Linked DNA regions of Homo sapiens: all the other regions are linked to region 1. Evidence: promoter capture Hi-C in 16 types of primary human blood cells and fetal thymus (Javierre and others, 2016). All regions are on one chromosome and are shown on one strand. The core of a region is centred on a gene start or on the middle of the fragment in contact, and the rest is flanking DNA. Distances in the headings are between cores, read along the strand shown. Region 1 holds the start of ADIPOQ (adiponectin, C1Q and collagen domain containing). Region 2 overlaps ST6GAL1 (ST6 beta-galactoside alpha-2,6-sialyltransferase 1). Region 3 has its middle 45 kb from the start of RPL39L. Region 4 overlaps ST6GAL1 (ST6 beta-galactoside alpha-2,6-sialyltransferase 1).

Evidence for each region. Contacts are between HindIII fragments. The CHiCAGO score rates a contact against its expected background, and 5 or more counts as called.
Region 2: a fragment that was not itself captured here is called in contact with the fragment with the promoter of ADIPOQ in region 1 in 8 of 17 cell types (non-activated CD4 T cells, total CD8 T cells, activated CD4 T cells and 5 more); the score reaches 12.8 in non-activated CD4 T cells.
Region 3: a contact is called between a fragment that was not itself captured here and the fragment with the promoter of ADIPOQ in region 1, in 14 of 17 cell types (non-activated CD4 T cells, total CD8 T cells, activated CD4 T cells and 11 more). The highest score is 18.7, in non-activated CD4 T cells.
Region 4: a fragment that was not itself captured here is called in contact with the fragment with the promoter of ADIPOQ in region 1 in 10 of 17 cell types (non-activated CD4 T cells, total CD8 T cells, naive CD8 T cells and 7 more); the score reaches 17.4 in non-activated CD4 T cells.

The regions. Positions count from the first base shown.
Region 1 is chr3:186,838,417-186,844,293 of GRCh38, reverse strand. ADIPOQ (adiponectin, C1Q and collagen domain containing) reads right to left here and starts at 1,584. Exons shown (of 3, transcript NM_004797.4): 1 at 1,545-1,584. RefSeq lists enhancers at 1-1,544, 4,127-4,284, a cis regulatory region at 2,133-2,160 and a promoter at 1,562-2,260. The HindIII fragment of the contact is 5,592 bases long and covers 1-2,260 here.
Region 2 is chr3:186,981,031-186,987,366 of GRCh38, reverse strand. The region is part of intron 2 of ST6GAL1 (ST6 beta-galactoside alpha-2,6-sialyltransferase 1); the gene reads right to left. LOC124906314 (a long non-coding RNA gene) reads left to right here. Exons shown (of 3, transcript XR_007096208.1): 3 at 676-4,070. Among named protein-coding and RNA genes, the nearest start is that of ST6GAL1, 54 kb to the right of the region's middle. RefSeq lists an enhancer at 1,157-1,286. The HindIII fragment of the contact is 1,869 bases long and covers 1,912-3,780 here.
Region 3 is chr3:187,091,865-187,098,114 of GRCh38, reverse strand. No RefSeq gene overlaps it. Among named protein-coding and RNA genes, the nearest start is that of RPL39L, 45 kb to the left of the region's middle. The HindIII fragment of the contact is 1,776 bases long and covers 2,509-4,284 here.
Region 4 is chr3:187,044,541-187,050,543 of GRCh38, reverse strand. The region is part of intron 4 of ST6GAL1 (ST6 beta-galactoside alpha-2,6-sialyltransferase 1); the gene reads right to left. Among named protein-coding and RNA genes, the nearest start is that of RPL39L, 92 kb to the left of the region's middle. RefSeq lists an enhancer at 5,901-6,003. The HindIII fragment of the contact is 3,699 bases long and covers 89-3,787 here.

The DNA.
Region 1 (5,877 bases), core at 335-2,834:
TGCCTGTAGTCTCAGCTACTTGGGAGACTGAGGCAGGAGAATCGCTTGAACCTGGGAGGCGGAGGTTGCAGTGAGCTGAGATTGTGCCAAAAAAAGACTCCTCAAGACTTAAGGAAGAGTGGCAGCAGGGACTGCTGAGGAAGCTGCCGGGCTCCCTGTGTACCACTGGCCTTCATGAACAAAGCTGACACCATCATGCTCCTTCGGACATATTCTGCTAGCATAAAGGGACCCCCATCTCCCCAACCGAATTAGGCAGAGCTGGCCTTCCTTCTAGCGGAGTTCCTAGGAGTGAGTTGGTGCCACCCCTTGTGAGGCTTGATCCAAAAACCAGAACCTCTCCAGACCAGGGATCCATGTCCTCTAACACAAGAGGGGCAGACCTAACCTCTAAAATCCCTCCCACTCTAACCTTCAGCATCCACAGCTCAAAACAACCAGGATGCCTCAGAAACAGCACTCACTGGGGCGAGCAGGATTAGGCTTCAGAAAAACCAGGTAGATCCAGTTTCTTCTGTCAGAAAATGTTTTTTTTTAATTACAATTTTTCATAAGTTGCCACTATATGCCAGGCTTTTCTCATTTTATCTCATTAGAGCCTCTTTTTCTTTTCTTTCTTTTTTTTTTTTTTTTGACACAAAGTCTCGCTCTGTCACCCAGGCTGGAATGCAGTGGCAACAATCTCGGCTCACTGCAACCTCTGCCTCCCAGGTTCAGACAATTCTCCTGCCTCAGCCTCCCGAGAAGCTGGGATTACAGGCACCTGCCATCACGCCCAACTAATTTTTGTATTTTTGGTAGAGGCGGGGTTTCACCATGTTGGTCAGGCTAGTCTGGAACTCCTGACCTCAGGTGATCCACCCGCCTCGGTCTCCCAAATTGCTGGGATTACAGGTGTGAGCCACCATGGCTGGCCTCATTAGAACCTCTTGATTACCTTGTAAGATATCCCTATACCTACATATATCCCCAAATCCATAGACAACAACCATGTCACACTCATTGTATCTTGTGAACCCAATCCACTGTCTAGCCCATAGAATTTGCTCAGTAAATATTTGCTGAGTAGAATAAAGTGGCAGAGCTGGATTCCTAATTCCAGTCTGAAGTCAGTGCTCAGCTTGACTTTTCTGAAGCTGCCTTCATATATGCTTCTTCCTTTGCCCTACCTGGTCAAGCTAAGAGGCAATGTATTCCCTTATCCCCCTTAATCGAATTGGACTTCATCTGTGGACAGACCCTTCCACCTTACTGACCCTAACTTTTTCTCAATAGGTATCCTGCTACAGAGCGAACTGGGCAAAATTCAGAATGGTTCCATGCATCTTAGAAGGAATGTCTGAAATAACCCTTTCTCTCTTGGGGCTGTGGGAGAACGGAGGAAGAAGCCCAGTGCATATCTGCCTCCACCAGTGCTGCTCTGACCAGAGTATCCACCTGTATCCACTCCCACACTACTACGGACGGGAGAGCCTGGGTGATCCCAGCCAGAGGCTATGCATGCATCCCCCACCCAGCCTGGAACTTCACAGAATTGCTCTTACCCTCTGGTATGGAATCAGAACCACAGACTGCAGTCAGAATGGAAGTGAGGAGGAGATGGCCCAGCCTCAACAGCCTGGTACTCACGGGGGCAGGCAGTCCCCACCTCACAATTGTCATTTCCCATTGGCCAACTCAGTGAGGGCCAGAGGCCGGTGGGCAGGCACATGTCCCTGGCAGTTGCCCACAGCCTGCACCCTAGGGAACCTGGTACAACCCAGCTTGGGCTTCGGAAGCCAAGTGGAGCTTCAGTCAAAGCACTTGTGTTTCCAGGCCTTGACCCTTATTTTGCCTCCTACAACAGCAACAGAAGATGGGGCAAAAGTCAAAACCACAGCAGGAAAACAAGATTTTTTTCCTGCATCTGACGGAGAAACTTCCTAATGTAAATGAATTAATTGCTCAGTGGTCCAGGAGGTCTCCCCCTCCCATAGATTTGCCCTAATAAGTCAGGGACGCCAATTATCACACCACAGTCTTGCTCACTGTGCATGATTAAGTCTGAGACTGTGTACGTTCAGACAGTGAGTGCTTCAGAAGGGAGCACTGTCAGAGGGGTCTGCAATCAGGTAAGAAATAGAGCACATCCTCCACTCTCTGACCTGGACCCTGGATTTAGGAAAGACCTTGCACATGAATTCTGAGAACTGGGGTGTGGGGAAGTTCCTGGAGTGGTGTGGGGCTTGGCAAGTTAAAAAGGCCCTGAATTCTTAAAGCTTGTGGCCTCGAATCGTAATTTGAATCTAATATAATAGAAAACTTACATAAAATGTGATATTGGAATACCATCTTTCAAGATTTTTTGGTTCCAAAATTTCGGATAACATTTTGACAGCTACCTTGGTATGTGTGTGTGTGTGTTTGTGAGAGAGAGAGAGCCTGTTTTTCCAGTTCCTTAAGCATATATATGCCTATTCTGTCTCTTGTGGAACCCAGCTCTGGCCTAGAAGCAGCCTGGAGAACTGGAAGCTGCCACCCACTTAGGTGTTCCTAGAAAGTTTAGGCTTGAAGTGGCAACATTCAACACCTTGGACTTTCTTGGCACGCTCATGTTTTGTTTTTGAAGGGCAGGATCTGAGCCGGTTCTTGCAAGCCACACATTCTGATGAATTAAATTACGACCCCAGCAAGGGCTTAGGATGCCAGCACCAACTTCAACAAGACATCCAAAACAGAATTTTCTCAGACAGAGGCAGGGCAAGTGTCTGCCTGCCCCCCAGATATCATCTCCACAGTCCACACAGAGCCTAAAAATCTACCAGTAAAGTCAAGTCCACCATTAAAGTAAAGATCTGATGTAAAGCCTCAGCTTCCTGCTAATGTCCAAATATTTCAAGAGAAGTCACATTAGGCCGTTGAGATGAGAGACATGAGAGACTTTCCAAGGTCCCCCGGCTTAAATAAGTGGCCCATGAAAATGAGGTTCCATATAGTTTAGCAGGCTGATTGAACCAAGAAGACAACAAAAAGAAATAGAAGCAACTCTCAATTATATCACTGTTTGATTTTTGTTATGGTGTTTTCCTATTTATTTTTGGTTTATGTTACTGTCTGTTGCTATTTAATAGAACATAAACTTCAGGTCAGGTGCAGTGGCTCAGGCCTGTAATCCCAGTACTTTGGAAGGCCAAGACAGGCATATCACCTGAGATCAGGAGTTTGAGACCAGTCTGGCCAACATGGTGAAACCCCATCTCTACTAAAAATGCAGAAATAGCCGGGCGTGGTGGCACATACCTGTAGTCCCAGCTACTTGGGAGGCTGAGACAAGAGAATCACTTGAACCCAGGAGGTGGAGGTTGCAGTGAGCCAAGAGCACCATTGCGCTCTAGCCTGGGTGACAAGAGTGAAACTCTGTCTCAAAAAAAAAAAAAAAAGTAAACTTCAGGAGAGCAGAGATTTTGCCTATTCAAAGTTGTATCCCTTAGTTCCTAGAATAGAACCTGGCACAAAGTAGGCAATAATAAATGTTGAATTAATGAATAAATGAATGATCATATTCAACTTTCCTTTGGAGATAACTATTATTGTCTTTCATTTTACAAATAATGAATCTAGAGTTCAATGAGGGTAAATAATTTGTTCAAGGCACAAGTCTAGGATTTGAACCAGATCTGTCTAACTAAAAATCCCTATGCTTTCTAATTCCTCATGCCCTTCACCCCTCTTGATGGAGTGTGAGGCCTCAAGGTTGATGTATGTGCTTCAGGGTAGTTTCAGGGCTGGCATAAAAAGTATTTTCTTTGGCCGGGCACAGTAGCTCATGCCTGTAATCCCAGCATTTTGGGAGGCTGAGGCGGGCAGATCACTTGAGGTCAGGAGTCTGAGACCAGCCTGACGAAGATGGTGAAACCCCGTCTCCACTAAAAATACAAAAAAGTTAGCCGGGCGTGGTGGCAGGCACCTGCAATCCCAGCTACTCGGGGGTCTGAGGGAGGAGAATCGTTTGAACCCAGGAGGCGGAGGTTGCAGCGAGCCGAGATCGCACCATTGCACTCCAGCCTGGGCAACAGAGCGAGAATCCATCTCAAAAAAAAAAAAGTATTTTCTTCTAACTTTATAAGAATGCAGCTGGTTAGAGAAAGCTGTAGCTATTGCACAAGGTGGAATAACTTTAGCCCCACAATCACACCAAGACTGTGCTGGGCCTGGCTGTCAGTCAGTGACATTGTGAAAGCCTAGCATTTTGCGAGGCCTCAGGGCAATCTGCCACCCACCACAAAGGCCGTCATGTGGAAAGAGCCAGTTCTGTGGCATACTGGTTTAAAGACTGTAATTGAAAAACATTCAATCAGAAATGCCTTGAGGCTAGTCTTTTTCCCAGGACAGAACTATTACTACTTAGACCGAAATAACCAAATAAATGCGATCATTTCCTCCAGGGTACCGTAGCTACAGGTCAAGCCCCTGTTAGCATGTGAGTTGGGATACTGAAACAGGCCAAATCACTTAATTTATCTTAAATATGTTTAAGCATGGCCATATATTTTTGCTTAATTATGATTTTTAAAAATAATCTTAACTGAAGTAACCAAGCATAAGCACTGTATTTTGAAAAATAAAGATTGGAGCAAGATGGTAGAGTGAGCACGCCCTGCAGCAATGTACGCCATCCCCAAACCCCTAGAAATGGCAAGAAAGGAGAACATTTCTTTATCTTTTTTTCTTTTTTTTTTTTTTTGAGATGGAGTTTCACTCTTGTTGCCCAGGCTGGAGTACTATGGCATGATCTCAGTTCACCGCAACCTCTGCCTCTCAGGTTCAAGCGATTATCCTGCCTTAGCCTCCCGAGTAGCTGGGATTATGGGCATGTGCCACCACGCCCCGCTAATTTTGTATTTTTAGTAGAGACAGGGTTTCCCCATGTTGGTCAGGCTGGTCTCGAACTCCCGACCTCAGGTGATCCACCCCCTCGGCCTCCCAAAGTGCTGGAATGACAGGCGTGAGCCACCGCGCCTGGCCAGGAGAACATTTCTTTATCTCTTCTGAAGGTATGGCTACGGCTGTACTTCTGAAGTATCTCAGATGATAATTTAAGTATCTGGTTTGCTACTGCATGATTTGGACTGTCACCTCCTGCCACCGACCAGAAGGCCATCATGATTCAAGCGCAGTCAATGCAGGTAGGCAACCCTGAATTCATACTTTTTAAAGCCTGTGTCCTTGGACTACCCCCAATACTAAAAAATTGTACTAGTCAAGGTACAATAATTTTAGAAAGGCTGGAGAAGCAAAGGGAGATGATATTGCCTAAAGACCAGGAATCGGTGACTGCTCCTGGACCATAGCCTATGAGCCTGCGCTTACTGCATGTCTTGCTAGCTGCTCCACCATTGCCACTGAACAGGAGCCACTGTCACCGCCACTGCCAAGGGCGCTCACTGAAACACAACAGCTCCTCCCTTCTTCCCCACTTCAGTCTTTTCACGGTTGTCTCCCATGTGCACAAGCTAACTGGTACCCATCTGGCAAAGGAATGTAGGATGTGTCATTTCAGGCATCAAGCTCCAGGAATACAAAAGGGATTATGGAGAGGTGAATGGAGGGCTAAGTACTAACAGACATGATCTGGCATAGGTCACAATGTCAAAAAAGAAAAAGTGACACCCAAGGTAACAAAGCTAATAGAAAAAAGGGTGAAGCTTAAGAATAACTATAATTATTATATCAGAAAGATGTCATAGGAATGAGCATACATGAAAATAATTAACGTCTAGTCTGCCCACAGTAGGAAGTGAAAATAAATTTCTGTCTTTTTGTCACTAAGTTCATGGTGATTTGCTATGGCAATCTTAGGAAACCAATACAAGGATCTAGGGCCAGTGAAGAGTTCTT
Region 2 (6,336 bases), core at 1,597-4,096, 140 kb before region 1:
TGTAATACCCTTCACTGGATAAGGAAGGTGGTAAGGTATGTATGTGCCTAGCGTAGTTCCAGGGACATAAGATACTTACTAACCTTAGGGGCTTTTCTTTCTTCTTTCTTTCTTCCTTTCTTTCCTTTCTTCCTTCCTTCCTTGCTTTCTTTCCTTTTCTTTCCTTCCCTCCCTCCCTCCCTCCCTGTCTCTCTTTCTCTTTCTTCCTCCCTCCCTCCCTTCCTTCTTTCTTTCCTTCCTTTCCTATGCAGTCTGCCTGACTTCTCTCAGAAATGGTAAGAGTAAAATAGAAGTTGATTGTTCTGTTTTCCCCCAGGACATCTGTGAACATTACATCATTTGCCACCATTAGGGAACTAAGCCTGTATTCACTGTATATCACTTTTTTTTAAAAGGAAAGAAAGAAAACCTTTGGTTCTGAGTATGTTTAGCAAGTCATGGTTCCTTGTTTTTCTTTTTCTCCTGACACTATTCTTTCTATAAAATCCAAAGGAAATGACCTTAGATCATTTAAATTCAAGTTTCAGAGAGGTGGCTCGACTTGCTATAAGATGCATCTGATTTGACATCAGGTTCTTCTGATCGCAAGTCTGGGGTCTTTCCGCCTCATTTGGCCAACTCTCTTGTCCCCTTGCTTCCCCAGACTCACCGTGATATTCCTTTACCTCCATCCAGAACTCAGATAACGTGTCACTCTAGTCACCCTGAAGATTTGCCTCTTGAAAACATAATCGCCGTGCAGTAAAGAGGAGACCAAAATAGAACCACATACAGCTGCCGAAAAGTGCTGAAGAATATGGCGCTAAGGAGAGAAAGACACCACTAGCCAAAGGCAAGTGGATCAAAAAGCAACCCCCTACATTGGACATTCTTGTTATTTTGTTGTGGTGGTGGTGGTGGTGGTGGTGGTCATTGTTGCTGTTGTTGATACAGGGACCTGTCTAAATTCTATAGTATTTAATACTGTATTCAACAAATATTTACTGTTGAATATTTATTGAATACAATATTCAACACTATGTGCCAGGCATGATAGAGGCCTGGACTGAGTAGCGACTCTTTGGTATGAACCAGATATAACTTGCACGATGTTTCACAAGCTGGTTTGGATGTTATTAGCTTAGTGTGTCATTTACCCCATCCCTACTCACACCCGAAACATGATATTTTGTGGAGCTAAAAAAAAATACCTCAAACAAATCACTTCCTCAAACGGCAACCTAATCTCTGCTTCCTTATGGCGGGGTCTCTTGACTTGCTTACACTTCCCCACTTTCTACTGGTTCCTCAAATAACTGAAGTCGGTTCACATCATTCCACTGAAACTGCCTTTCTAATTGCAAAATCTAAAGAGTCCTTTCCAATACTTATTTCAAACAGGCGTCTCTGGGTCTTTTTCAAACTCCCTCCCACTAATGCCTTTCAGGCATCCTCCCCAGCTTAGCCTCCCCTGGGACCAGCTTCCTGCCAGTCCTGAAATGCCCACATACACGGGGAAGATTCCTGCTTCCACATGACCAGCCCCCAGTGACATCTCCCTCAGACTCCAGACCTCGTCTTTTTTTCTTTTTCTTTTTTCTTTTTTTTTTTTTGAGACAGGGTCTCACTCTGCCACCCAGGCTGGAGCGCAGTGGCGCAATCTCGGCTCACTGCAACGTCCACCTCTGAGGCTCAAGCAATCGTCCCTCCTCAGCTTCCTGAGTAGCTGGGACTATAGGCATGCTCCACCAGGACCAGCTAATTTTTTTTTTTTTTTTTTACTTTTTGAAGAGACGGGGTTTCGCCATGTTTCCCAGGCTAATCTCGAACTTCTGAGCTCAAGATGCACCCACCTTGACTTCCCAAAGTGCTGGGAGTGCCTAGCCTCAGATCATATCCTTTCAAAAACTTTTAGAGACCTGCACAAAAGCTTTATATTCTACGCTTACTCACTTTAAAAAAAAATGTATTAAACATTTGCTAAGTGCTAAGTATAATTCTTAGTGCATAGGATACTACAGTGAATAACCCAGATGAAGATCAACACCCTTAGAGTTTTACATACTAGCAGAGGGAGACACTAAGAGCCGTAAATATAACAAATTAAAAAAATTATTTGGTATCTTAAAAGATGCTAAGTGCTTAGAGAACAAAGTAGAGTACAAGAAAGGGGGGATAGGGCCAGGCTCAGTGGCTCACGTCTGCAATCCCAACACTTTGGGAGGCTGAGGTGGGCGGATCACTTGAGGTCAGGAGTTCGAGACCAGCCTGACCAACAAGGTGAAACCCTATCTCTACTAAAAATACAAAAATTAGCCATGTGTCATGGTGGGCACCTGTAATCCCAGCTGCTCAGGAGGCTGAGGCAGGAGAATCACTTGAATCCAGGAGGTGGAGGTTGCAGTGAGCCGAGAACGTGCCACTGCACTTCAGCCTGGGTGACAGAGCGAGACCCTATCTCAGAAAGAAAGAAAAGAGAGAGACAGAGAAAGAGAGAAAGAAAGGACGGAAGGAAGGACGGAAGGAAGGAAGGAAGGAAGGAGGGAGGGAGGGAGGGAGGGAAGGAAGGAAGGAAGGAAGGATGGAAGGAAGGAAGGAAGGGAGGAAGGGAAGGAAGGAAGGAGGGAGGGAGGGAGGGAGGGAGGGAAGGAAGGAAGGAAGGGAGGAAGGGAAGGAAAGAAAGGGGAGATCGGAAGTACTGGGTTGAGGTAGGTTTCCATTTTCCAAAGGGCAGTCAGAGGAGAACTCACTGAGAAGGGGACATTTGAACAAAGAGTTGCAGATAGTGGAGGAATGAGTCCCACAATATCTGGGGAAGCGTGTTTGCGGCAAGGCTCAAGGCAGGAGTGCACTGGTGTGCACTGGTTGGAAGGAAAGGATCAAGGAAGAGGGTACATGGAGACGGGGTCCGGGAGGAACAAACAACGATGTCGGGGAGGTGGAGGAGTCTGGGCAGGGCCTTTGAGGTCTTGGCAAGAACTCTGGCTTTTAGCAAATAAAATAGGAGCTGCTGCAGGAGGCTGAGCAGAGGAACAACCAGATCTGACTTAATATGCCAGAATTGCTCAGGCTGCCATGTGGGAACAGGAATAGGGGGCAGGGATAGTAGTAAGGAGACAGCAGCAGTCCCAGTGAGCGATGCTCATGGCTTAGACCAGCTGGTTGCAGTGGAGGCAGAGAAGTGGGTATATTTTAGACGTGCTTTGAAAATCATGCCCGATATTTTAGATGTGAGTGTGAGAGAGAGAAGAGTCAAGGATGATTCCAAGGGTTGGAGCCCAAGCAACTAGACGGATGGTGCTACTTTAATGGAAAAAGAGGAGACAAAGGAAGAGCAGACCTGGGGGCAGAGGAAATCTGGAGTTCAGCTTTGGATATTCTGAGTTTGAGATGAGACTGTCAAACAGAGCGTAAAGTAGGAAGCCTGATAGGAAAGTCTAGAGGTCAGGGAGAAGGTGTGAGCTGGAGATCCATATTTGGGAGTTATCAGCATGAGAGCTTTTCGGATGTTCTTGATCAGCTAGTGGAATTTTTCTCCACCCAGCTGCATGACTGTTTACTCTGGAGCAAGGATTCCTGGGCGTAAACCTAACTCCTCCACTCCTCAAAGGTCTGATCTTGGACAGGCTACTCAACTGCTCTCAGTGTCTGTATCCCCAAAAGTGCCTACTTCTTTTATTATGAGGAAAAAATGAGGCAATTCGTGTTAATTACCTTGCACATAGTAATAAGCACTCCCTATATAATAACCATTATAATCCCCTCCCTTCCTCTCTCCACCTCTTACTACCTTGCTAAGCTTGGTATCTTCAACTTCCCTTTTTTCTCACCTCATATTCAACTCATCCCTCACCCTGAGTGCCCCTGGATCACTGTCCACGCCAGTGCCTCACTGCCCCTAGAGCAATCCTATAAACAGTGTTGATTCCAACTGAATAGGTCGCAAGCTTCTATTTTCTACTCTCAGAATATTTCTTAAATCTGCCTCCCTCTCTTTGTTTTCTCATTATTTCCCATCTGAGTTCCCAATAAGTTTTACTTAAATCTCAATTATATTCTAATCAAATTAAAATGTCATTTTAATGTGCCTACATGTCTGTCTTCCCTTAAAACCGTAAGCATTTCAACTGCCAAGTAATAATTATCACTGTATCCCTAGCACCTTTATGTCCAGTGCCCAAACCGTGGTAACTATCCAGTAAATATTTGGTGAATGAATGGAAACATTTTATTGGCTAATTATTACCTGCTAGACACTCTGTGAAATTAAAATACAACCATCACTACCATATAAACTACAATTCCTGCCCACAAAGAGTTTTGAGAGACAAACTTAGCGTACCTGAGACAGAAAACAAAGCAGCCAAATAAATGTAATTAGATTACTATTAAAAAGAGAGAATTGGGGCTGGGCGCGGTGGCTCATGCCTGTAATCCCAGCACTTCGGGAGGACGAGGTGGCTGGATCACCTGAGGTCAGGAGTTCAAGACCAGCCTGGCCAAAATGGTGAAACCCCGTCTCTACTAAAAATAAAAAAATTAGCTGGGCATGGTGGCGGGCGACTGTAATCCCAGCTACTTGGGAGGCTGAAGCAGGAGAAACACTTGAACCCGGGTAGCGGAGATTGCAGTGAGCCGAGATCACACCATTGCACTGCAGCCTGGGCAACAAGAGCGAAACTCCTTCTCGAAGAAATAAGACAGAGAGAATTACACACAGACACTTTTCAATTTACGATGTGATGCCATTATATCTGGATAAACCCATCCTAGTTAAACTTAGGGTATGTTCCCTTTGGTCTCAAGCTCAAGGTTGATTAAATGATACACGGTACATGCTCCCTTCCTCTCACTTCCTGTACTCAGTTGTCATCGCTCCTCAAAAGTAGTCAAATTCCTGGCCCTCAATATCTTTGCCATACTGCCCCATAGTTGAAGATACATATTCCCCCTAACTGTCTGCCATGATTCTTGGCATTACTGGGTCTTCACTGAGAGTCACGAGCAACCAACAATCTATCTTACTAAGAAATGACTTGACTAAGGTCATGCTTATCCACATGGAAAAAGGTTAGGAATGATGTGATGTTAGATGGGAATGTAGGGATCTGCCACCCTTTGATGCAATTTGTACATAGCTTTGCTCTGTATCACCAGTCAGGGTAACCAATCTCTAAATTTCTTCCTCACCAAAAAAGGAAGGACTTCCTATTATTCTAATGAGGCAAAATGGTATAAGCATAATAAGTGTTCATTTGTGAGCTACACAGACCTAGGTTTGAAGTCCAACTCCACTGCTAACCTAGGGAAATCTAGTTGAATTTTCTAGGCCCGTTTATTCATTTGTGAAACAATACCAGTGTGACCTGTATCATAGCGTGACTGCTATCATAGAGTTGTTAGGAGAATTAAATGAGAAAATAGATGTAAAGCACCCAGCACACAATCACTGTGCACAGTGGCAGCTATTATTATGGATTCTAACTCCCAGATAATCATGGGTCTTAGTAAAGGAGGTATTCAAGGGTGGTCATTCAGAGGGTTTCCTTCAGCTTTAAGCAGTGTTTTATAAAGTGCTCTTAGTCTGTAAGAAAGCTTCTGCTGAGTTTTGTCATCAAAGCTGAGGTTGGAAATAGGTCAATGGACCAGGATAAGGGTTGAGTCTTTCTCCCAGCTCTGATGGAACAATATTTCCTGACTGCCTTCAGTAATTTATATGCCCAAAAATGGACCTTGAGAATTCAAAAATAAGATAAGACTTGGAATGCTAATAAGAGATAACAAGACATCATCAGTCTCCCTGAGGAAAATGAAGTGCCTTAGTGTATTGGTGGCATGACAGCGGATCTAGATGCTCTGAAGCTACAGAGAAGACTTCATGCAGGTTACCCACGGTACAAGGCAGTAGTGATGGCCCTCAAATATCTGCTGTCTTCTACCTCTGCCATCCCTCTGTTAAAGCAAATAAGAAGGAGGCCGTTAGCCTGAGGTTGTCTCCATAACCAGAGCTTCTACATAAGCAAACCAAAATCCAAATCAATGTAAACAGTAAAATGTAACTAGAGGCTTCACCAATCAGAAACCACCAACTAACCTCTAACTAGGGTCTTCCCACTCTAATAAAATATATTTTCTTAGCCTTCTTTCCACGTTCAGCCTACAAAAGCTCACTGTCCTCACTGCGGCAGCAGAGCTCTCTGAACCTCTTCTGGTTCTGAGTGCTGTCCAATTCACACATGGTTCTTTGCTCAGATGAACTTTGCTACATTTATTTTCTCTAAAGTTTTTCTTTTAACACCTCCTGCCTTCTTCCTTGCTTTGCATAGCTGCTCTACTCCACCTCTTCTAGAATATTAA
Region 3 (6,250 bases), core at 2,147-4,646, 250 kb before region 1:
TACCAACTTTGTTTATCTTTTCAAAGAACCAGCTTTTTGTTTGATTTGTCTTTTGTATTTTTTATTGTTGTTGTTGTTGTTTCAATTTTGTTTAGTTCCACTTTGATCTTTATTTCTTTTCTTCTCCTGGCTTTGGGTTTAGTTTGATCCTGTTTCTCTTGTTCCCTGAGGTGTAAAATTTGGTTGTCAATTTGTGTTCTTTCAGACTTTTTGATGTAGGCGTTTAATGCTATGAACTTTCCTCTTAGCACTGCTTTTGCTGTATCCCAGAGGTTTTGATAACTTGTGTCGGTTATTATCATTCATTTCAAATAATTTTTAAATTTTCATCTTGATTTCATTATTAACACCAAAATCATTCAAGAGCAGATGATTTAATTTCCATGTATTTTATAGTTTTGAAGGTTCCTTTTGGAGTTGATTTCCAGTTTTATTCTACTGTGGTCTGAGAAGATACTTGACATGATTTCGATTTTCTTATATTTATTGAGACTTGTTTTGTGGCTTATGATACAGTCTATCTTGGAGAATGTTCCATGTTCTGATAAGAAGAATGTATATTCTCCAGTAGTTGAGTAGAATGTTCTGTAAATATCTGTTAAGTCCATTTGTTCTAGCATATAGTTGAAGTCCACTGCTTCTTTGTTAACTTTCTGTCTCAGTGATCTTTCTAGTGCTGTCAGTGGAGTATGGAAATTTCCCACTATTACTGTGTTGCTGTCTATCTCATTTCTTTGATTTAGTAGTGATTGTTTCATAAATCTTGGAACTCTGGTGTTAGGTGCATATAAATTTATGGTTGTAATATCTTCTTGTTGGACTGATCCTTTTATCATTATATAATGTTATTCTTTGTATTTTGTTTGCTTGTGTTTGGCTGTTGTTGCTTTAAAATCTGTTTTGTCTGATATAACAATAGCTACTCTGGCTTACTTTTGGTTTCCATTTGTGTGGAATATCTTTTTCCACTCCTTTACCCTGAGTTTACATGAATTTTTATGTGTTAGGTGAGTCTCTTGAAGACAGAAGATATCTAGTTTATGTTTTTTTTTAATCCATTCTGCCATTCTGTACCTTTTAAGTGGAGCATTTAGGCCATTTACATTCATACATTCATTACATTTTATAGGCCTTATAGTTTTATGCTTTCAGGAAGTTCTATTTTGGTGCATATCAAGCTTTTCTTTCACAATTTAAAACACCTTTTAGCATTTCTTGTAGTGCTGGTTTGGTAGTGGCAAATAACCCCAGCATTTGTTTGTCTGAAAAAGACTTTATTTTGCTCTAATTTATGAAGCTTAGTTTTGCTGGATACGAAACTCTTGACTGACAATTATTGTGTTTAAGGGGTCTAAAGATAGGACACCCAATCTCTTCTAGCTTGTAAGGTTTCTGCTGAGAAGTCTGTTATTAGCCTGATATGTTTTCCTTTATAGGTTACCTGATGCTTTTGTCTCACAGCTCTTAGAATTCTTTCCTTCATATTAACTTTAGATAGCCTGATCACTTTTTGCCTTGGTGATGATCTTTTTGCAATTAATTTCTCAGATGTTCTAGGAGCTTCCTGTACTTGGATATCTAAATCTCTAGCGAGGCCAGGAAACTTTTTCTCAATTATTACTTCAAATACGTTTTCCAAACTTTTATCCTTCTCTGTTCCCTCAGGAACAACAACTCTTCTTAGGTTTGGCCATTTTACGTAGTCCCATATTTCTTGGAGACTTTGTTCTTTTGATTCTTTATCTTTATCTGATTGGGCTAATTCAAAAGCCTTGTCTTCAAGCTCTGAAATTCTTTCTTCTATTGTTCTAGTTCATTGTTGAAACTTTCCACTGTATTTTTATTTCCCTAAGTGTGTCTTTCATTTCCAGATATTCTGATTAGTTTTTCCTTATATCTATCTCTCTGGAAAATTTCTCATCCACATCCTGTATTGATTTTTAAATTTCTTTATGTTGGTTTTCACCTTTCTCCAGTATCTCCTTGAGCAGCTTAATAATAAACCTTCTGAATTCCTTATCTGGTATTTCAAAGATTTCATCTTGCTTTGGATCCAGAGATGGGGAGCTAGTATGATCTTTTCAGGGCATTATAGAACCCCATTTTGTCATATTACCAGAATCTCTTTTCTGGTTCCTTCTCATTTGGGTAGACTATTTCTTGTAATTGTTCTTGAATTTATTTTTGGTTTCATTTTTTTTAATTTCTTTTTTTTTCTCTTAAGGATGTGACTTCAATATTTATAGTTTATTACAGCTGAATTTGGTTCTTGGTGCTTTTATGAGTGAAGATTCTGTAAGAATTCCTTGCTTATAGAGAGTCTTTGTGTGATGGCTGTCTCAGATGCTACTTGTAGTATGTATGTACTTGGTATAGGCAAGTTCATTGTCTCCTGTGGGATTGGAATGGTAGGGGTCTTTTGAAGCTTATCTCATTTCCCTGTGTTGTGCACTCATATTTATTTATTTTTTCTCCATTATTTTATTTACTGAGTTAATGGCTCAAGCTTCAGGACAGTAGGGGTGGAATTGTATCCCTGGGTAGGAACCGGTTGTAGCTAAAGCAAGTGGGTAAATGCAATACCCAATGGTGGGCAGAGATCCCAGCCTTGATTAAGGTTGCTTGGGGAGCTCCCAAATAGATGCACTGAGGTCTTATCAGAGTGAAGGTTGGGAGCTATCTCAGCTCCCCTGCCAGGCCAGCAGAAAAGCTATCCACCTCCCAGCCTCACACCTGTCCCAGTGTTCCAGCTATTCAGATTATACAGGCACTTCTTTTTGTCTGTAGGAATATTGGTGTTTCAAGTAGAGAGAAATTGTGAGTCTGCTTCTTGTGCAAGCCCAAACCTGGGGAATGCTCCTTCTGTGGGGATGCAGTTGCCCTGAAGTGTTCCAGGAAGGCTGTCTGTAGGTGAATCCACACAGAGTTCCCGTGAGAGAAGCCCCAGCTGTGTCTGCAGTGGTGGACAAGTGGGGAAAGAGGACCCTTTCTCTAAGACCTTTCATGAGCACCAAGCCTGTCTGACTGTTGGATAGAGACACAGATGTCCCCTGCTGAGTCCAGTACTGCAATTGTGTCTCTGCTGAAAGAAACTTTCCCACAGGAATGATCTGGGACTCAAGGCCTGTCACCCAGATTATTTTGTCCCACACGGTGTTCCCGTGATGTGGTACTCTCCCCCTTTTCCTAAGAGGAAGACCTCCTGAGAGTCAGACTATAGTGATTGCTATTACAGCCAGAAGTTTTGCTTGACGCCAGAACACAGTTAACAGCCCAGCCCAACTAGAGAACATGCAAGGTCTACCTGTCACCACCTACTGGCCCAACTAGAATCCTAGGCTATACTAAATAGTGAAGATCTGCACAGCCAAAGAATACCAGCAAAGACTGGAAAGTGTTTCTTCAAATGTGTAGGTACCAATGCAAAGACACAAGGATTACAAAAATGAGGGAAGTCTGGGCGCAGTGGCTCATGCCTGTAATCCCAGCACTTTGGGAGGCCAAGGCAGGTGGATTACCTGAGGTCAGGAGTTCAAGACCAGCCTGGCCAACATGGTGAAACTCCATCTCTACTAAAAATACAAAAATTAGCCGGGCATGGTGGTGCGTGCCTGTAATCCCAGCTACTTGGGAGGCTGAGGCAGGAGAATTGCTTGAACCTGGGAGGCAGAGGTAGCAGTGAGCTGAGATCATGCCACCGCACTCCAGCCTGGGCGACAGAGTGAGACTCCATCTAAAAAAAAAAAAAAAAAAAAAAAAATGAGGGAAATGCAACTAATAAAGTTCTAATAGTGGACTCTGAAGAAGTGGAGATTTATGACATGACTGATAAAGAATTCAGAAGTTCAGAGAACCACAAGAAAATACAGATGAAAAATTGAATGAAATTCTGGGAAACAATTCATGTACTAAATGTGAAGTTTGACAAAAATATAAACAATAAAAAACCCAAATAGAAATTATAAAGCTAAAGAATACAATAACTAAATTTCTGAAATTAATAGAAAGTGTCAATAGCAGGTCTTGACCAGCAGAAGAAGAATCAGTGAACCTGAATACAGGACATTTAAATTAGTCAGAGGAATGAAAAGAAAAAAAAGAAAGAAAAACAATGGAAAAGGCCTATGGTAATTATGGGACATTATCAAGAAAACAGATCTACGCATAATAGGAGTTCCCTAGGGAAAAGAAAAAGAAAAAGAACCAGAAAATTTATTTAAGATAATAATGGCTGAAAATTTCCCAAATCTAGGAAAAGATGACAATATCCAGGTACAGGAAGCTTAGAGATCACTTTTCAAATTTAACTCAAAGACAAGTTCACCAAGACACATCACATTCAAATTATCAAAAATTAAAGACAAAGAAAGAATACTGAAAGCAGCAAGAAATAAGAGGCATATCATACTGAACAGAGTCTCAATATAGCTATCAGTGAATTTCTAAGTAGAAACCTTGTAGTCTAGGAGACAGTGGGATGATACATTCAAAGTGCTGAAGGATAATAGACAACTGCCAATCAAGAATACTTTACCCAGCAAAGCTGTCCTTCAGAATAAGGGAGAAATAAAATTTTCCAAATGAAAGCTAAGGGAGTTTACCATCACCACTAGGCCCACTCTACAGGGATTGCTAAAGGGAGTTCTTTTTTTTTTTTTTTTTTTTTTTTTTTCTGAGACAGAGTCTTGCTCCATCACCCGGGCTGGAGTGCAGTGGCACAATCTCAGCTGACTGCAACCTCTGCCTCTAAAGGGAGTTCTTTAAGTGGAAACAAAAGACTACTAACTAATAATACACAACATATAAAATAAAAAACTTAATGGTAGAAGAAATACGTAGTCATATTCAGAATACACCAAAAATGTAAATAAAGGTTATGTGTAAAGCAATTTTATCTCTACTATGAGGGCTAAAATAAAACTACTAAAAATTGTAGCTACAATAGATTGTTAAGGGATACAAATTATAAGAAAAGGAAAATTTTGACATCAAAAGCACAAAAGGTAGGGAGAAGGAGTAAAGTGTAGAGCTTTTGCTTGCAATTATAATTGTTATCAGTTTAAAATAGCCTGTTTTAAGTTTAAGATGTTTTATATAAGTTTTATGGTAACCATAAAGCAAAAAACTATAATAGATGCATAAAATATAAAAATAAAGAATTAAAAACAGACCACCACTGAAAACCTTTAAACCACAAAAGGAGACAGCAAGAGAGGAAGAAAGAAACAGAGAATCTATAAAACAACCAGAAAACAAATTACAAAATGGCAGTAGCAAGTCCTTTACCTGTCACTAATTACTTTGAATGTAAATAAATTTAATTTTCCAATCAAAAGACATTGAGTGGCTGAATGCATAAAAACAATATTCAGGCCAGGCATGGTGGCTCATGTCTATAATCTCAACACTTTGGGAGGCCAAGGCAGGAGGATCACTTGAGCCCAAGGGTTCAAGACCAGCCTGGGCAACATGGTGAGATCTCATTTCTACAAAAAATAAACAAAATTAGCTAGACATGGTGGTGAATGCCTGTAGTCCCAGCTACTTGGAAGGCTGAGGTGGGAGGATTGCTTGAGCCCAGGAGGTCAAGGCTGCAGTGAGCTGAGATTGCACTACTTTACTCCAGCCTGGGCAACAGAGCAAAACTCTGTCTCAAATCAAACAAACAAACAAAATACCAATATTCAATCATATGCTGTCTACAGGAGACTCACCTCACTAGGACACACATAGACTGTACATGAAGGGACTGAAAAAGATATTCCATGCATATGGAAACCAAAAGAGAGCAGGGTTAGCTATACTTATATAAGGAAAAATAGACTGTAATTCAAAACCTATCAAAAGAGATCAAAAAGGCCATTATATAATGATAAAGGAGTCAATTCATCAAGAGGACATAACAATTGTAAATATATTCATCCAACATCAAAGCACCTAAATACATAAAGCAATTATTAAGTGATTTCAAAGAGGAGGTAGACTGCAATGCAATAATAGTACGGGTATTCATTTTTTATAACAGACCATCTAGTTAGAAAATCAACGAGGAAACACTGGACTTGAATTACACTTTAGAACAAATGTACCTAACAGACATATGCAGAACATTGCATCCAACAGAAACAGAATACACTTTCTTCTCAATGGAACATTCTCCAGGACCACGTTAGGCCACAAAACAAATCTTATCAAATTTAAGGCGATTCAAATCATAGCAAGTATCTTTTCCAATCACAATGCCATGAAA
Region 4 (6,003 bases), core at 689-3,188, 210 kb before region 1:
TCTCTCTCTTTCTTTGTAAGCCATTGTCAGAAACAATGTACTAAATCCAGTCAAAATCAAACAGGCCATCTTGAAAAACCTAAAAGCTTCCTGGGCTAGCTCCTTGTCTTTGCAACTGTTTAAGCAGTGTTTGGAAGACTTGGAAAAGTTTCTCTACCCCACGTTGACCTATCTGATGAAGGAGGGAACTGAAGACTTTAAGGAGCCATCCAAATCCTGTGATCCTATGAGAACTTCTTTCAATCTTACTCGGTCAAGCAAGTTTGGGGCTCACCACTGAAATCTACACGGGATCTGGGGGTCAGCTGAATCCTCTATTGTCCTATTCAGGTTTGTTTTGGATCATTCTTTATCCACACAGGATTTGGGGAAGTGAGGGCATTTGACTGAACACAAGATGATTTAGAAAGAGGATATCCACAGAATTAAGGATGAAAGCCTCTCTCTTTATTTCAGTTCCAATGTATGTACTAAACCTCAGGAACACAGAAACATCATTCATGAAAACAACACAACCCTATCCTCAATCCTAGGGCAAAATTTCATCAAAATGGTTTGAAAATTATCTGAGAAGGGCACAGTCCAAACTGTTATCATCTTACAGGGCAGGTACACTGAAGTGCACATAGGGCAGGAGGTATATCTTTACACAACTCAGAATTACAACACATTTTGTCAGAATCAGTCACTGGTTCGAAAGGGATTAGTAGTAATTGCATGAGAAACACAGATCCATCAGAAACTTCAGTTAGTCAACTTTTCCATTTCACAGATGAATAAATTATTGGTGAGAATCCCAGTAGAAAAGAGATGAGAAGCTCCAATGGAGTAATTGAGAGATTCATAAAAGGACTACTTACCAAGTTGGGGTAGAGTTTAAAGAAATCAACACGGAATAGGCTAAAGCCCCAGGGTTGATGACTGCAGGGTGTCATTACCACCCCAGGTCTACTGTGGCCTGATGAGCGGAGACCCTGAGCTGAGGAGGGACACCTGTCGGGAGCTGTTGCCTTTAGGAGAGGAACACAGCTATTGCCAACCTCCGGGCAAGAAGGAGCCTGAGGGAGTCAATATCCCAACCTGGTTCTGCCCCTTCCCTTGGATCTCATAGAACTGAAGGGAAAAGGGACAGAGCAGGACCAAGACTGGGACGGCCTCCTGGCAGGATCTGAGACCTTCAGTCAAGAGAAAGATACAGCTTGAGTTTACTCTGCAAGGCGAAACATGGCGGAATAGGTGCCCTGACCTTAGTCTTCTTCTCAGCTTTAATGCCACTGCTTCTCCTGGCCAGTCCCAGAGAAAATCCAGAGAGTGAGAAATGCCAATTAACGCAGTTCAAAATTTTAATTTCTCAGCTGGGCGCAGTAGCTCACGCCTGTAATCCCAGTACTTTGGGAGGCCGAGGCGGGTGGATCACCTGAAGTCAGGAGTTCGACATCAGCCTGACCAACATGGTGAAACCCCATCTCTACTAAATATACAAAAATTAGCTGGGCGTGGTGGCACGCACCTGTAATCCTAGCTACTCTGGAGGCTGAGGCAGGAGAATCGCTTGAACCCAGGAGGCGGGGGTTAGCGTGAGCCGAGATTGTGCCACTGCACTCCAGCCTGGGCAACAGAACAAGACTCATTCTCAAAAAAAAAAAAAAAAAAAAAAAAAAAATTCAATTTCTCAGGGACAGAGCCAGATGGAAAAGGGTGAGAGTGGGATTTGGAGGTGCCACTGGAGAACATCCAGCACAGAAGGCTTAGGTTAGAACAGATGCTTGATGTTGACCATAAGAAAGGAGAATTGTTTTGTTCAGTCAACAAATACTGATTGAGCACCTACTCTATGCCAGGCACAGTTTTAGACACGGGAGACGACGCCTGTGAGCAACAAAGACAAGGTCCATGCCCTCAGAGATATTACATTCTACTGCACGGACATAGACAGTAAAGACGGACAACAACCTACATATAAGATAATTTCGGATTGTGACAAACACTGTGACACTAACAAGCTGAGCTGTGTGCCAGAGACACTGAGGGAATTTCCTTCATAGAGTGATGATTCAGGGAATGCCTTGGAGCTGAGACCCAAAGGATGGCCAGCCTTGGGAAGGGTTCAGAGAAGTCCACCAGTCAGAGGATGCAGCAAGTGTCAGGACCACAATGAGGGCAGGGACTTGACTGTAGACAAGGAGTGAGGGGAAGAAAAATCAAAGATACAGTTACAGAGGTTGGCAGGAACCAGATCATACACGGACATGGGGGCCCAGGTATGAAGTTTGGACGTGATTCTAAGAAAAAAGCCAATCAGGCTGGGCACGGTGGCTCACACCTGTAATCCCAGCACTTTGGGAGGCCAAGGTGGGCAGATCACGAGGTCAGGAGATCGAGACCATCCTGGCTAACACAGTGAAACCTCGTCTCTACTAAAAATACAAAAAAATTAGCCGAGTATGGTGGCAGGCGCCTGTAATCCCAGCTACTCGGGAGGCTGAGGTAGGAGAATGGTGTGAACCCAGGAGGTGGAGCTTGCAGTGAGCCAAGATCACGCCACTGCACTCCAGCCTGGGCAACAGAGCAAGACTCTGTCTCAAAAAAAAAAAAAAGAAAGGAAAAGAAAAAAGCCAATCAAAGGAGAAAACTTTTTTGAGGAGATGGATATTCTAATTACCCAATCTGATCATTGCGCATTGTATGCATGTACCAAAATATCACATGTACCCCATAAATATGTACAATTATTATATATCAAATTTTTAAAAAGAAAACTTTAAACTGACTTGGGTACTTAAAGAGAAAAAAATCCTGTTTGTCAAACCTCCCTGCTAATTGAAAGTTGAACTTTCAAACTCAAATAGGCCTCTAAGAAATCACCAAGAGAAATCCACAACTACTGAGATCCCAGCAAACAAGCCTAGCGAGGGGGAAAGGCTGCAGAAAAAAGAAACTACCACCTCTCTGTAACTTAGAATTAGAGCTCAGAAAAAGAGGCAAATTAGGAGAAGAAAAAATAAATGCATCACTGTATTCAGATTATACAATCACACGCTTAGAAAATTCAACAGAATCAGCTCAAGTTAGTAAATTCATAAATACATCAAAATCCACTGCCTCTAGGTGTAGTTAACTCTAAATAGCTAGAAATTATTATGAAAGAAATTTTATCACAATTTATCACCAAACGCTTTTATATTTTCAAGTTAGCCTAATACATCCTACAACCATTTATGGAAAATTACATTCTGAGTCCGGTTGAAGAAAACAGACATACTATAGATCAGAGTTAAAAAAAAAAAAAACTATGACTTGGCCGGGCGCGGTGGCTCACACCTGTAATCCCAGCACTTTGGGAGGCCGAGGTGGGCGGATCATGAGATCAGGAGATCGAGACCATCCTGGCTAACACGGTGAAACCCTGTCTCTACTAAAAATACAAAAAATTAGCCAGGCGTGGTGGCAGGCACCTGTAGTCCCAGCTACTCGGGAGGCTGAGGCAGGAGAATGGCATGAACCTGGGAGGCGGAGCTTGCAGTGAGCCGAGATCATGCCACTGCACTCCAGCCTGGGCAACAGAGCAAGACTCCGTCAAAAACAAAACAAAACACTATGACTTGAAGGACAAATCTGGTGCATCCCTCATTTTGTAAATAAAGTTTTGTTGGAACATAGCCAGGCCTGTTCATTTACTACTATCTATTGTTACTTCTGCAGTACAACAGCAGAGTTGAGTAGTTGTGACAGACATCATGGCCCTCAAAGCCAAAACTATTTACTATCCGGCCTTTTAAGAAAAGCTTGCTGACCCCTGATATAACTGATCATGTTCTCCAAGCTACTCAGTTCACAGGTGTCTTCTCAGTCCTTATTCTGCCCAAGAATATGTCCCACCTCTGCAGACTTTGATACCAACAGCCAACATCCCTCAAACTCCATCCCCCTTTGCCTTCCATTGTATGGTGCACACCTAGTTCTCCTCTAGCCGGTCTCTGACCCTTCTGACTTTTCCCTGTTCTTTTCTTTGTCCTTTAAATGTAAATCTTTTTCTAGATTTTCTAATTGGTCTTCTTCCCTGGATTATAACCATTATCTCACCTTGATACAAATGACTTGTAAATCTATCTCGATATCTGATCCTTCTCTAGAATTAAGTACTCAACAGCATAGATATCTACCCAGGGAAATCCACACACACTTCAGTCTCAGAACATCCAAAGTGGAATCTGCGTTCCTCTGGAAGCATGCTCCCCTTGGTAAGATACAGCCTGCTCCCAGGCTAGACATCCTGGCTCCTGCCTCTCACTCAAGATCATTTCCAGCTAGATAGTAAGTTCTGCCTCTTACTTCATGAGCCCTCTCAGGTAAGGTCCTTTCTCTTCATCACTGCTACCACAGCCTGGGCAGGCCTGGCACTTCTGACCTGGTTGTGGCAATAGTCCCTAATAATGGAGACATTATAGAGTACAAAACAGGGACTCATAGAGAAGTGAGAAGTCTCCCTTGTTCAAAAACCTCCTAGGGCTCTCCATGGCTTAAAGAATGAAACCTAAAGTCCTTATTGTGACTATCAACGTTCTCTAAGAGCTAATGCCTAGCTACCTTTCTGGCCTCGTTCCTCACCCATCTTCACCCACAAGGACCCACATGCCGTCCAAACAGGATTATTTGTGATGCCCAAACACACTTTTCCCCGTGCAGCCTTTGCTTCTTGCCTTTGCCTTAACTCAGAATACCCTTCTCTTTCTCTCTAGGACAGCTAATAGACAAGAATAGAAGAAAATTTTTAACATAATAAAAGAATAATCACACCGAATTTTATTATGAAGCTACAATTATTATGAGGCACAACAGCAGAGGTGCCAAGAGTGGGGTCTTTGAAGCAAGCACTCTGCTTTCAAACCTCAGTCTGCTATTAGCCAGTTGTGTGACCACTTGAGCCTCCGCATTTAGCTCTCCAGCAAAATGAGACCAATAATCTTATCAACCTCACAGGACTTCTGGGAGGATGAAAAGAGCAAGGCATGTTAGGAACTCAGCAGATGCATAATAAGCATCACTTGTATTGATGATAGTGTTTTAAAATTATGCTACTGTTTGACATGAAAATTCCAGCAAATCTAGGATACTTAACATGTATGAGTAAACTATCAAAAATAATTGAAAATGACTGAGCCCACCATTGGCTGGTTTGTGAGACTGCTGGAGGCAGAGTATGTTATTACACTCTCTCTGATAGAAAATCTTGCTATGGACAAAAAAAAAAAAGTCATAAAATGTCTCTTACTCGTGTCTTCTAGCCTCACTTCTGAGGATATTTCCCTGTTGAATGTCAATAGTGGTTACCTAAGTTATCTGCACAAAAACCTTGTCAGCAATGTTATTTGTAAAAGAAAACCATTTGAAATAATCTGATCCATCCAGTAGTTGGGAAGAGACTCAACAAATTCCAGATGCAGGAGGAAGTGTATGGGCCTGGCACGCTGCCTGCAACTCGGGCTTCAACAAAGGGCCTTTCCCTTCCCTTTCCCCTTTGTATTGTTGATGAATCCATGAATAAATAAAAGAATATATGAATGTCTTAAAATATTTGTTAGACAAAATGCCAAGAGGATATATACCCCATAACAGCAGAACATTCGAAGTCTAACATGCAATTTTGATTACATCTCAGGATCAAAGTCCTTCTGTGGAAATCCTTATTTTGAAGTTGAAACTGCAATCTATAGAAAAATATTATTTGTATTAATGTTTACTTAAATCACCCCAAATCTTTAAGGAGTGCATAAAATTAAAGCTGTAGTTCTAATTAACAGAGCTATCAGGCCCTGTCTCAAACTTCAGTACAATTTCAGCCAGGCACGCAATATTAACTTGACATGAAGAAGAAGGATCAGCTAATACCTAGGATATCCCAAACATTTGCTACATAAGCAGCAAAAATGGAGAAGAAAGAAACTTAGCTCCATTATGGATGAACAAAAACCAATCACATTTAGTTTCTTGAAAACAAAGTCC